2 separate regions of the Homo sapiens genome follow, and region 1 is linked to region 2. The links are contacts of gene promoters, found by promoter capture Hi-C in human tissues and cell types (Jung and others, 2019). All regions are on one chromosome and are shown on one strand. The core of a region is centred on a gene start or on the middle of the fragment in contact, and the rest is flanking DNA. Distances in the headings are between cores, read along the strand shown. Region 1 holds the start of LINC01944 (long intergenic non-protein coding RNA 1944). Region 2 holds the start of NEURL1B (neuralized E3 ubiquitin protein ligase 1B).

The links. The method cuts DNA at HindIII sites, captures the fragments that hold promoters and counts their contacts. A contact is called where the count stands out against the background at its distance.
Region 1: a contact is called between a fragment that was not itself captured here and the fragment with the promoter of NEURL1B in region 2, in 2 of the 25 tissues and cell types used here (liver and thymus).

The regions. Positions count from the first base shown.
Region 1 is chr5:172,554,807-172,559,027 of GRCh38, reverse strand. LINC01944 (long intergenic non-protein coding RNA 1944) reads left to right here and starts at 14. Exons shown (of 3, transcript NR_146726.1): 1 at 14-89; 2 at 933-1,161; 3 at 1,526-2,303. The HindIII fragment of the contact is 4,288 bases long and covers 1-3,461 here.
Region 2 is chr5:172,639,555-172,644,280 of GRCh38, reverse strand. NEURL1B (neuralized E3 ubiquitin protein ligase 1B) reads right to left here and starts at 3,018. Exons shown (of 5, transcript NM_001142651.3): 1 at 2,844-3,018. The coding sequence starts at 2,874. RefSeq lists a silencer at 2,967-3,256. The HindIII fragment of the contact is 6,548 bases long and covers 1,559-4,726 here.

The DNA of each region.
Region 1 (4,221 bases), core at 68-2,567, 84 kb after region 2:
AGCTACTAAAGGGGAGGCCCTTTCCATATTCCGCTTCATTCTCCCCTCCTGGCGTGCCTCAAGGAACGACCACTGTCCCCAGGTTACAGGTGAGGAAGCCGAGGCTCTGAAATATGACTGCGCCAAGTGGCCAGAATCTCGAGCAGCCTGACTGCCTCCCGCCCCAGCCCCTGGAGGCCTCGAGTCCTCCTTTACAGAAATGCCTCCCACCCCCAGCCCAGTTCATTCCAGCAGCCTCCGAGCTCCCCCTTCTCCATCCCTCCCTGCGGTCTGAGCCCTGCCTTCCGAGCCCTGCCTTCCCAGTGTGGAAGGGGAACTGGGTGGGGTAAGGCACCTCTGTTTTCTCACGAAAAAGTCCCTCTCTAGGGCGGAGGCCCTTGAAGAAGAAGGAAAGGCTGTGGGGATTGATGGGCCCCTGGAGGACTGTCATGGGGGGTGGGTGTCTGCAAGTCCAGAGGCACATCCTGCCCCCTTTCAGGGGCCTCTGGTGTGGGGTCTGGAAGTGAGTGGCTGGTGCAGGCTGTGGTCTTCCTGCTAAGCCACTAGGGCTGCTGGGGCCATAGCCTCCAGAGCCTGCTCACAACTGGTCTACTCAGCCTCCAGTCCAAGCCGCTGAGCACAGATCTCAGGGCCCTGCACGTTCTGGGCCGTGCCTCCTGACATCTGAGATGAGAACGAGCCCTCCAGGAGGTCCCATATGATGTGCCCCTGTGACCTGCATTGTCTGGAGGCAGTAGACCCAGTAGTTGGTGACCAGGAGTGAAAATCTGAACAGTCTCCTGTGTGTCCCTGGGCAACTTGCTCAACCTCACTGATCTCTGAAAATGGGCACGATAATAGGACCTGGGTGGTTGAGAGTACACCACAGGACCACATGTGCCTTTCTTGGCCCACACTGGTCCTTCTGCCTGGAATTATTTTCCACTTGTCAGGTGCTTCTTCACCCCAACAAGGCTCAATCAAGTGTGTTCTTCTCTGGGAAGCTGCAGACATCTGACCCCAGGCCACAGAGTCATACCCAGTCTGGCTCCCACAGCCCTCCCAGGCTGTCTGGTGTCAGTGCAGTGCTGTGGATGGGAACACACCTCTACCATGTTGAGCTGCTCTGAGGTTTAAATGCGTTACTGCTAATTGGGATCTTGGAACAACTCCTGGTGCATAGTGAGTACTCAAGAAAATGTGATGTCTCTTTATTCTCTTAGCAACTTTTGTCCTGGGTGAAAGTTGTCTGCCCTCCTCACCGGCCTGCAGGCTCTTCTAGGGCAGGATGGGGCTTGGTTCCTGTCTGCATCTGGTGAATCCCCTGACACACATTAGGTATCCTTACTCAAGGGAAGAGGGGCTTGCCTTTGGGACGGGGATGATGAAACTCAGCAGCCTTTGCAGGGTTTGTGATTTAGCCTGTGTCATTTTTGTGTGTCAGCGTAACTCTGGCTTGGCTTAGCTCTGTCAAACTCTGTGGGATAAGAAGAGCAGAGCATGAACCTGAAAACACACCCCAACCCCAAATTATTTCTGTTTCCAGGACACACACAGGACAGACTGGAATAAATACTGGTGGTTTATCACAGGAAGGCTGGCCTCAGCTTGGGAGAGTAAGCGTGCATGCATACACAGCCAGCTGATTTATTGTGACCCGAGCCAAGCACTGAACAGAGCGAGGCCATTTATCTACTTGGTTGGAGGAGAGGTCAAGAGAGAGAAGTCAGAGATTAAGCTAAATAGTTCAGTGCCTTTGTTAACTCCCGGGGCGTCTCCTCTGCGCGGCTTGTGTTCCCAGGGAATACTGTCATGAGCTCCACAGGGAAGACTGGACTCCTTCTTGGGGAGACAGCCCTGGCCCCAGGGAGCAGCGTGGCCAAGGACATTCTCAGCCTCTTGGGGTTGCCAAAAGGGAGCAGAAGCAGGAGGAGGGAGGGGGGGAGCTGGGAGGAACACCCCATCGTGGAAGACCTGCTGCCAATGCGGGGCTGCAGTCCCAGTCTCTGCCGCCACCAGACCCTGGTCAGGAGACATCACAGACAGGCTCCCTTCTCCCGCCTTCATTCAGGGCTCTGCTCAAACAGCCCATTTGCAATAGGACTTCCTGCAGTGTCCTAGTTAAATACCCCAACCCATGCCCCCATCGTACGCTATCCCTTCCCCTGCTTTATGTTTCTTCATGGTGCTCAGCACCCTGACATATCTATGTCTGTATTTGTTTACTTATTGTTGGGTCTGTTTTTGAATGAAGTGCTATGTCTGTGGTGTAAAGTCCAACATGTGGCAGATTCTAGGTGCTCAATAAATATCTATTCAGTGAATGACGAATTGTTGCTAATAGTTTACAACTGCTGAATATGTGCCTAGATAAGCTTTGTAGATCTCACTGTATATAACACCTCAACAGTACCATGCTGTACATACTGTCCTTAGGCTCAGAGAGGCGAAGTGGCTTGCCCATGGCCACACAGCTGGAACCAGATTCAAACTCACCTGGCATCAGGGCCTGAGCTCTCAGCCACTCTCCCAAGAGAGGACATGGCCATGGACTTGTTTAGAGAAGGATTAGTCACGCCCCAGCCCAAGGCATCCTAGGAAAGGGGAACCTTGATCTGAAAAGAAATACTTTTTGCCTTCTCCCTGCCTTCATTCAGGGCTCTGATTCATTGCAAGAAGGCAAAAAAGAAAATTCTTTTTTAACAGTGAGATGACTTGGATGATTAAAGAGGAAGCTAAATATCCTAAATATTGAAAGCAAATTCCAGCCAGGCGCAGTGGCTCATGCCTGTAATCCAGCACTTTGGGAGGCTGAGGCGGGCGGATCATGAGGTCAGGAGAACGAGACCAGCCTGAAACCCCGTCTCTACTAAAAATACAAAAATTAGCTGGGCATGGTGGCACACGCCTGTAGTCCCAGCTACTCGGGAGGCTGAGGCAGGAAAATCTGGGAGGCGGAGGTTGCAGTGAGCCGAGATCGCGCCACTGCACTCCAGCCTGGCGACAGAGCGTGACTCCATCTCAAAAAAAAGAAAGAAAGCAAATTCCACCTAAAATGGAATTACCACTGTTTATTGAAAACCGCTGTGTGCCAGGCATCAGCCAAGAGCTTCCCGTCCATGACCCTGTTTAATCTTCCTGATAACCCCCAGCAGCACATTCTGTTATTATCACCATTGTAATAATAGCATGGCAGAGGAAGGCCTAGTTGTTTTCCTAGGGTCGCTGTATTAGTCAGGGTTCTCTAGAGGGACAGAACTAATGGAATAGATATACATATAAAGGGGAGTTTATTACGTATTAACTCACGTGATCATAAGGTCCCACAATAGGCCGTCTGCAGGCTGAGAGCCAGTCCGAGTTCCAAAACTGAAGAACTTGGAGTCCGGTGTTCGAGGGCAGGAAGCATCCAGCATGGGAGAAAGATACAGGCTGGGAGGCTAGGCCAGTCTCTCTTTTCGCATTTTTTTGCCTGCTTATATTCTAGCCGTGCTAGCAGCTGATTAGATGGTGCCCACCCAGATAAAGAGTGGGTCTGCTTTTTCCAGCCCACTGACTCCAATGTTAATCTCCTTTGGCAACACCCTCACAGACACACCGAGGATCAATACTTTGTATTCTTCAATCCAGTCAAGTTGACACTCAGTATTAACCATCACAGCCAGTAAGTTAGTGAGCAGCCCATCTCATTCCAGAGCCTGGGTCATCTCCTCTTTAACCTGCTGCTTTCATGCCTCATTGTATTAGACATAAAGTTGTAAGCTCCCAAATTGTACCATGCATTTGGCAAGGGGAGAGTCGGGGTCTGGCTTATCTTTTTATTCTCAGTGCAACGCTGGCTATAGGTGGGTGCTCGGTGAGGGTTTGCCGACTGGCTGGATGAATGAATGGAGGAGGGATGTGAGTGAAAAGGGGAGTGGTTTTCAAGTTAATCTGAAGACATCGTCTCTAGAACACTGAGGCCTAGATCCCTAGAACACTCTCAAGAACACTGCCTCAGAAGCCCACATGCGGCTCGTTAAGTGTTCAGATTCCTGGACTCCAAGGCAGCCTCTGGTCAGAAGACCTGAAGCCTAGAAAACTGCATTGCCAGGAGATTCTGATGTTCACCGAAGTTCGAGACCTGCAGCCTGAAGCTCAGCTCAAATATCCCCACTGAACTGGGGCCCCTTTCACACACTGGAGCCCCTGGATGCTGCCAATTGGCATCTGCCGGCTGCATAAACGAAGGCCGGCTGGAGG
Region 2 (4,726 bases), core at 1,769-4,268:
CCTCGGCTTCTCAACTGTAATATGGAGATGATAATGCCTACATTGCAGGGATGTTAGAAGAATTAAATTCATCCATTCATCCCATCCAACACGTACTTACTGAACATTTACTCTGTACTAGCCACTGCTCCAGGTGCTAAACGTATAGCAGTGAATAAAACAGACAAAATCTCCCTGGGGGAGACAGACAAGAAACTGCTAACTACACATACAGCGTGTCGCATAGTGACACGTGCTAAGGAGAAACTTAAAGCTGGGTCAAAGGAGTGAGTGGGGTTGGGGCAACAGCAGGCCCCTCGTTCAAGCAGAGACCCCAAGGAAGCCTGGTGGGAGCCATGGGGAGGAGGGCAGAAGAATGTGCCGGGGAGAGGGATCAGGAAGTGCAGAAGCCTTGAGGAGAAGCATGCTTGGCGTGTAAATGAAGCCACATATGCAGGAAGCCTGGCATGGAATCCAGGTGCTCAGCAAATGCCAGCTCTCTATTTCAAGTCCCGCAGAAAGAACCCCACGCATGTGTCCTTTTCCTGAGAACGAAAGCACAAGGATTCTACAGGGCAAGACTGTGCCAAGTGTTCCTTCAGCCTAAGATTCAGGCAACATTCGAGCTCCACCACCAGTTTTTGAGCCCTTGCCAGGCACCAGTCTCTGGGATGGGCAACCAGGGATACAAGATGATCAAGACAAGGGCTCTGTCCTCAGGGAACCGCAAAGAGTCACAGAGACAGGCAGTGACAATGCAGTCATTGCAACGATGAGCAGGAAAGGACTTCAGGCATCCAGATAGCAGAGCAAAGGATGAGACTGTGGGTGGTCAGGGAAAGCTTCCTGGAGGAGGTAACGACAACTGGATTTTGAAAGGCAGACTAGACAAGAAAGGACAATCCATGCATGGGGACCATCACATGCCAAGCACAGAGGTACAAAAAACAGCACAGGGTGTGCAAGAAACTCATACTGGTAGGTCGGAAAACAATTAACGGCCCTTCATATTCTTGGCATCTGCCACCCGATGTGACTCAGGAATTCCGGTTCTGACCCCTTCCTCAAACTCAGTGCAAGCTTCAATCCCCAGAGAAGAGTCTGAATTCCCCATACTTAGACACTGCAGTGGGTAACCAACCTTAACTGCCGGCTCCCAGACTAGGGTGGCCCAGTCCACAGAGAGAGAGTTGAGAGGGATGGAGAATACATAAATCTCTAGCTATATTTAGCCTGCCTGGCGTGTGTCTGTCCCTTTACGCACCCCAGGGCTGACCCACAGGTGGCAGAATGGCTTTTTACTAGAATAGTATAAACATTTTTAAATTAAGAAACCAAGGAAAGGGGCCTGTGCCGAGGTGCCTCATCCCAGTGTCTATGTGGCGAGAATATCTGCTGCCCTATTTGCCAACATCCCCAGATATCTCCTGACCCGCGGGTGGGTTCTCCCCCAACCTGGCAATAGCCCTGTCCACAGGAGGTAGAGGCCACCCTCCAGTAAGCAGACCTGGGTTCTAATCCCACCTCTGCCACTGACTAGCTGGTGACTCTGCTGATGATTACAGCTCTCTGGGAATTTGAACGTTTGAGTGCAGTTGCTCAGAGGCTTGTAAAGTAGGAGTTGGCTCCTCTTCCATAAGCTGACCCTGGGAATCCTGGGCTCAGCACTGTCCACTTCAACCCGCTCCAGGGGAAATTATTCTTTAAGAGCATGTAATGCCTAGAAGGGAGAGCTATATGGGAGTGTTATAGCAGAGATGGGGTGATATGTCCCTCTTCCAGAACCTCACACTAAATTAACCTCACAGCTGACTTGCTTCCCCATTGAGCCGAGCCTTTGTGCTTTAGACACACACACACTCCTCTCACCTTTTGCCCAAAGGATGCTACAAAGGCCCAGCCTTAAGACAAAATACTTCTAAATACTTGGGCGTGTGAGGGGAGGGAGGGCAGAGAGACACAGGTCCCACTCCAGATTCTCCCACTACTAGCTGTGTGACCTTGGGTGAGTCATTTCACCTCTTCTGACACTCAATTTTTTTATTTGTAAAACTGGGATACACATCTTTATCGCGAAGCTTCTTTGCATACCGAGCTGGGGTATGCAAAGTGCTGGGCACTGAACCTCCACGGGCACGCGCGGGCGCGGGACCGCTGATCTGTTCCCACAATTACCATGTATTTTCCAGTAAGGCCTCCTCCTACCCCGTTAACCTGCTCCGGATCCCCTCACTCCGGTCCCAGAAATTCTGGGGCGATTTTAACTAGGGGGCGATGCGATCTGCAGCAGCGACTCCGAGGGGGCGAAGGAGTCCCCAGTGGAGCGGACACCAGAGGGGGGCGCAACCGGGGTGCGCGTGGGAACGTGGCCAAAGCACGGCAGCATGTGCCGCGGGGGCGCTGGGAGGCTGGAAACTGGGGTGCCCCTGAGAGCACCCCTCACTCTCGGCAGCTGCAGTCTTGGCACCACGGGTGGCTTCTGACCGTCGGAAGCCCTGGCGAGCCCGGCTCCAGTCACCCCCACCCAGGTCGCCTTGAGTTTGCTCATCAGCGCCCTCGGGCTGGAACAAAGGCGAGGGGGCGCGCGGCATCGCCCCAGCGGCCCTTTTTGCGCATCTGGCCAAAGCCGGGAGAATGAGGACTGGGGTCCCCAAGGTAACCAGGACGCGGTACCCGCCCTCCCGGGGCGCAAAGCCCAGCCGCGGGGCGCGCGCCGAGCTGAGGTCCGGGAGGTACCGGAGACTCCAGCCCGCTGCGAGCCGAGGGCTCCAAGGGCCGTGGGGTAGCTCTCCAGAGTCACCCAGCGGGTCCCCCGGAGGAGAGAAGCCCGGCGCCCGCCTCCCGGGCAGGGCTCCCCGGCGTACCTGGCAGGGTCCGGTGCACCGTGTTGCCCATCGCTGCGTCGGGCGCGGCGTTGGCGGCGGCGCGCTCTGGGCGCGCGGAGGCTAATTACGCGGCGGGCCAGGGACCAGGACCGGGGTCGACGCTCCGGGGCATCGCAGCTGCACGGGCGAGCCGGCGGGCGGCAGCTGGGGCGGGAGCCGGGAGGGAGGCGGCGGCGGCGCCTGCGGGAGGAGGAGGCGGAGCCACCGGCCCGGGCCCGCCGGCTCCGCCCCCGCCTCCCACCGCCTCCAACAGTGCAGGGGCGGGGCCGCGGCCGCCGCATCTTTTGAAAGTTTGCACCAGGCGGCGGGAGAAGCACAGCCAAGCCTCCCGCCCTCGCCGCTCCCGCGCCCGGGCCGGGAAGGCGCGCAGGGCAGCTGGGTGCCCTCGGGTGCCAGGATCGGCAGTCTGCTGGCCTGTCACCCATTTGTTCTAACACTTTGAGAAGGCCCACTGTGTGCCAGGCCCTCTTCCAGGCGCGGGGCCCCAGCCGGCCGAGTCCTAGCCCCGGCAGACCTCTTTGGAGAGTGCTTCGGCCCCGGGGGAACTTACACAGAGGCAGACGGGCCCCTGGGACCATGTAAAGGGCTTGGAGACAGTACACCCAGGGTTCCCGGGTTTGGGTGGAGTCTTTTCTATCCCCTAGGCCAGGTACCGAGGAATAGAAGAAACCCAGTGTCCAAAGATTGGGAAGAGGGAACCCACATTCATTAATTTATTCGCTCATTCACTAAAATATTTATTGAGCACAGTCTATGCACCAGGCACTGTGCTGGGCCGGGTAGATACAGACAAGGTCCCCACTGCCCTGGAGATGGCATGCTGAAGATAGAAATAACAAGCAATTACGATCACATTATATAATAATCAAAGCCAGGAAGAAAATAAAACAGATCCCAGTAGAGTGAGGAGATGACATTGTTTGGGGGCATAGGGAGAATCTGGGGTGGGGGCACATAAGCTCCATCTGATGGACTAGAAGGCGTCGGCCATGAGAAGAGATAGGTAGAGTGTTCCTGGCAGAGGCAGTAACAGGCATTCCTCATTCAGGCACCTGGACCACACTCAGTGGGAAGTGCAGCTGTGCCCTTCTCGAGCTCCATTTCACAGGCTGGAACGCTGAGGCCCAGGAAGTGCAATGACTTCCCCAAGAAGACCCGATTCCAAATGAGCTGTTTTTTTCAATTCTATTTTTCATGCTCTTGTATCCCTTGAGACTTTATGAAATATGTATTATTACTTCCATTTCACAGATAGGGAAATTGAGGCTCTGAGAGTGGAAGAGAGGTGCCCAAGATCTTCCAATGGTACAGGGCAAAGCTAGCCTGAAGCTATGCGAATAAAAGCGGGGTATTCAGGAGACAGCCTTCTGCATCTCCGGTGCCTTCTGCTTACAGTACATGACCCATCCCAGAGGGTTCTAGGGTCTTTAAGGCCAGCTCCAAGCTTCCACTTCCGGGAAACCTTGATTCCCCACTCCCCCCTGACGTCATATGTCTGAACATAAGATTGCCTTGCATTTGAGTTACTAATTTCTCATATTACAGGTGCTCGCCCAGTGACTTAATTTTTAACCCCAAAGTTCTGTTTGAGAAAGGTCCGTTAGCGTGATCCTTTTTTTTTTTCTTTTTTTTTTTGAGACAGAGTCTCACTCTGTCACCCAGGCTGGAGTGGAATGGCACAATCTTGGCTCACTGCAACCTCTGCCTACCAAGTTCAAGCAATTCTCCTGCCTCAGCCTCTTGAGTAGCTGGGATTACAGGCACCCACTACCACGCCCCGCTAATTTTTGTATTTTTAGTAGAGATGGGATTTCATCATGTTGGCCAGGCTGGTCTCAAACTTCTGACCTCAAGCGGTTCCC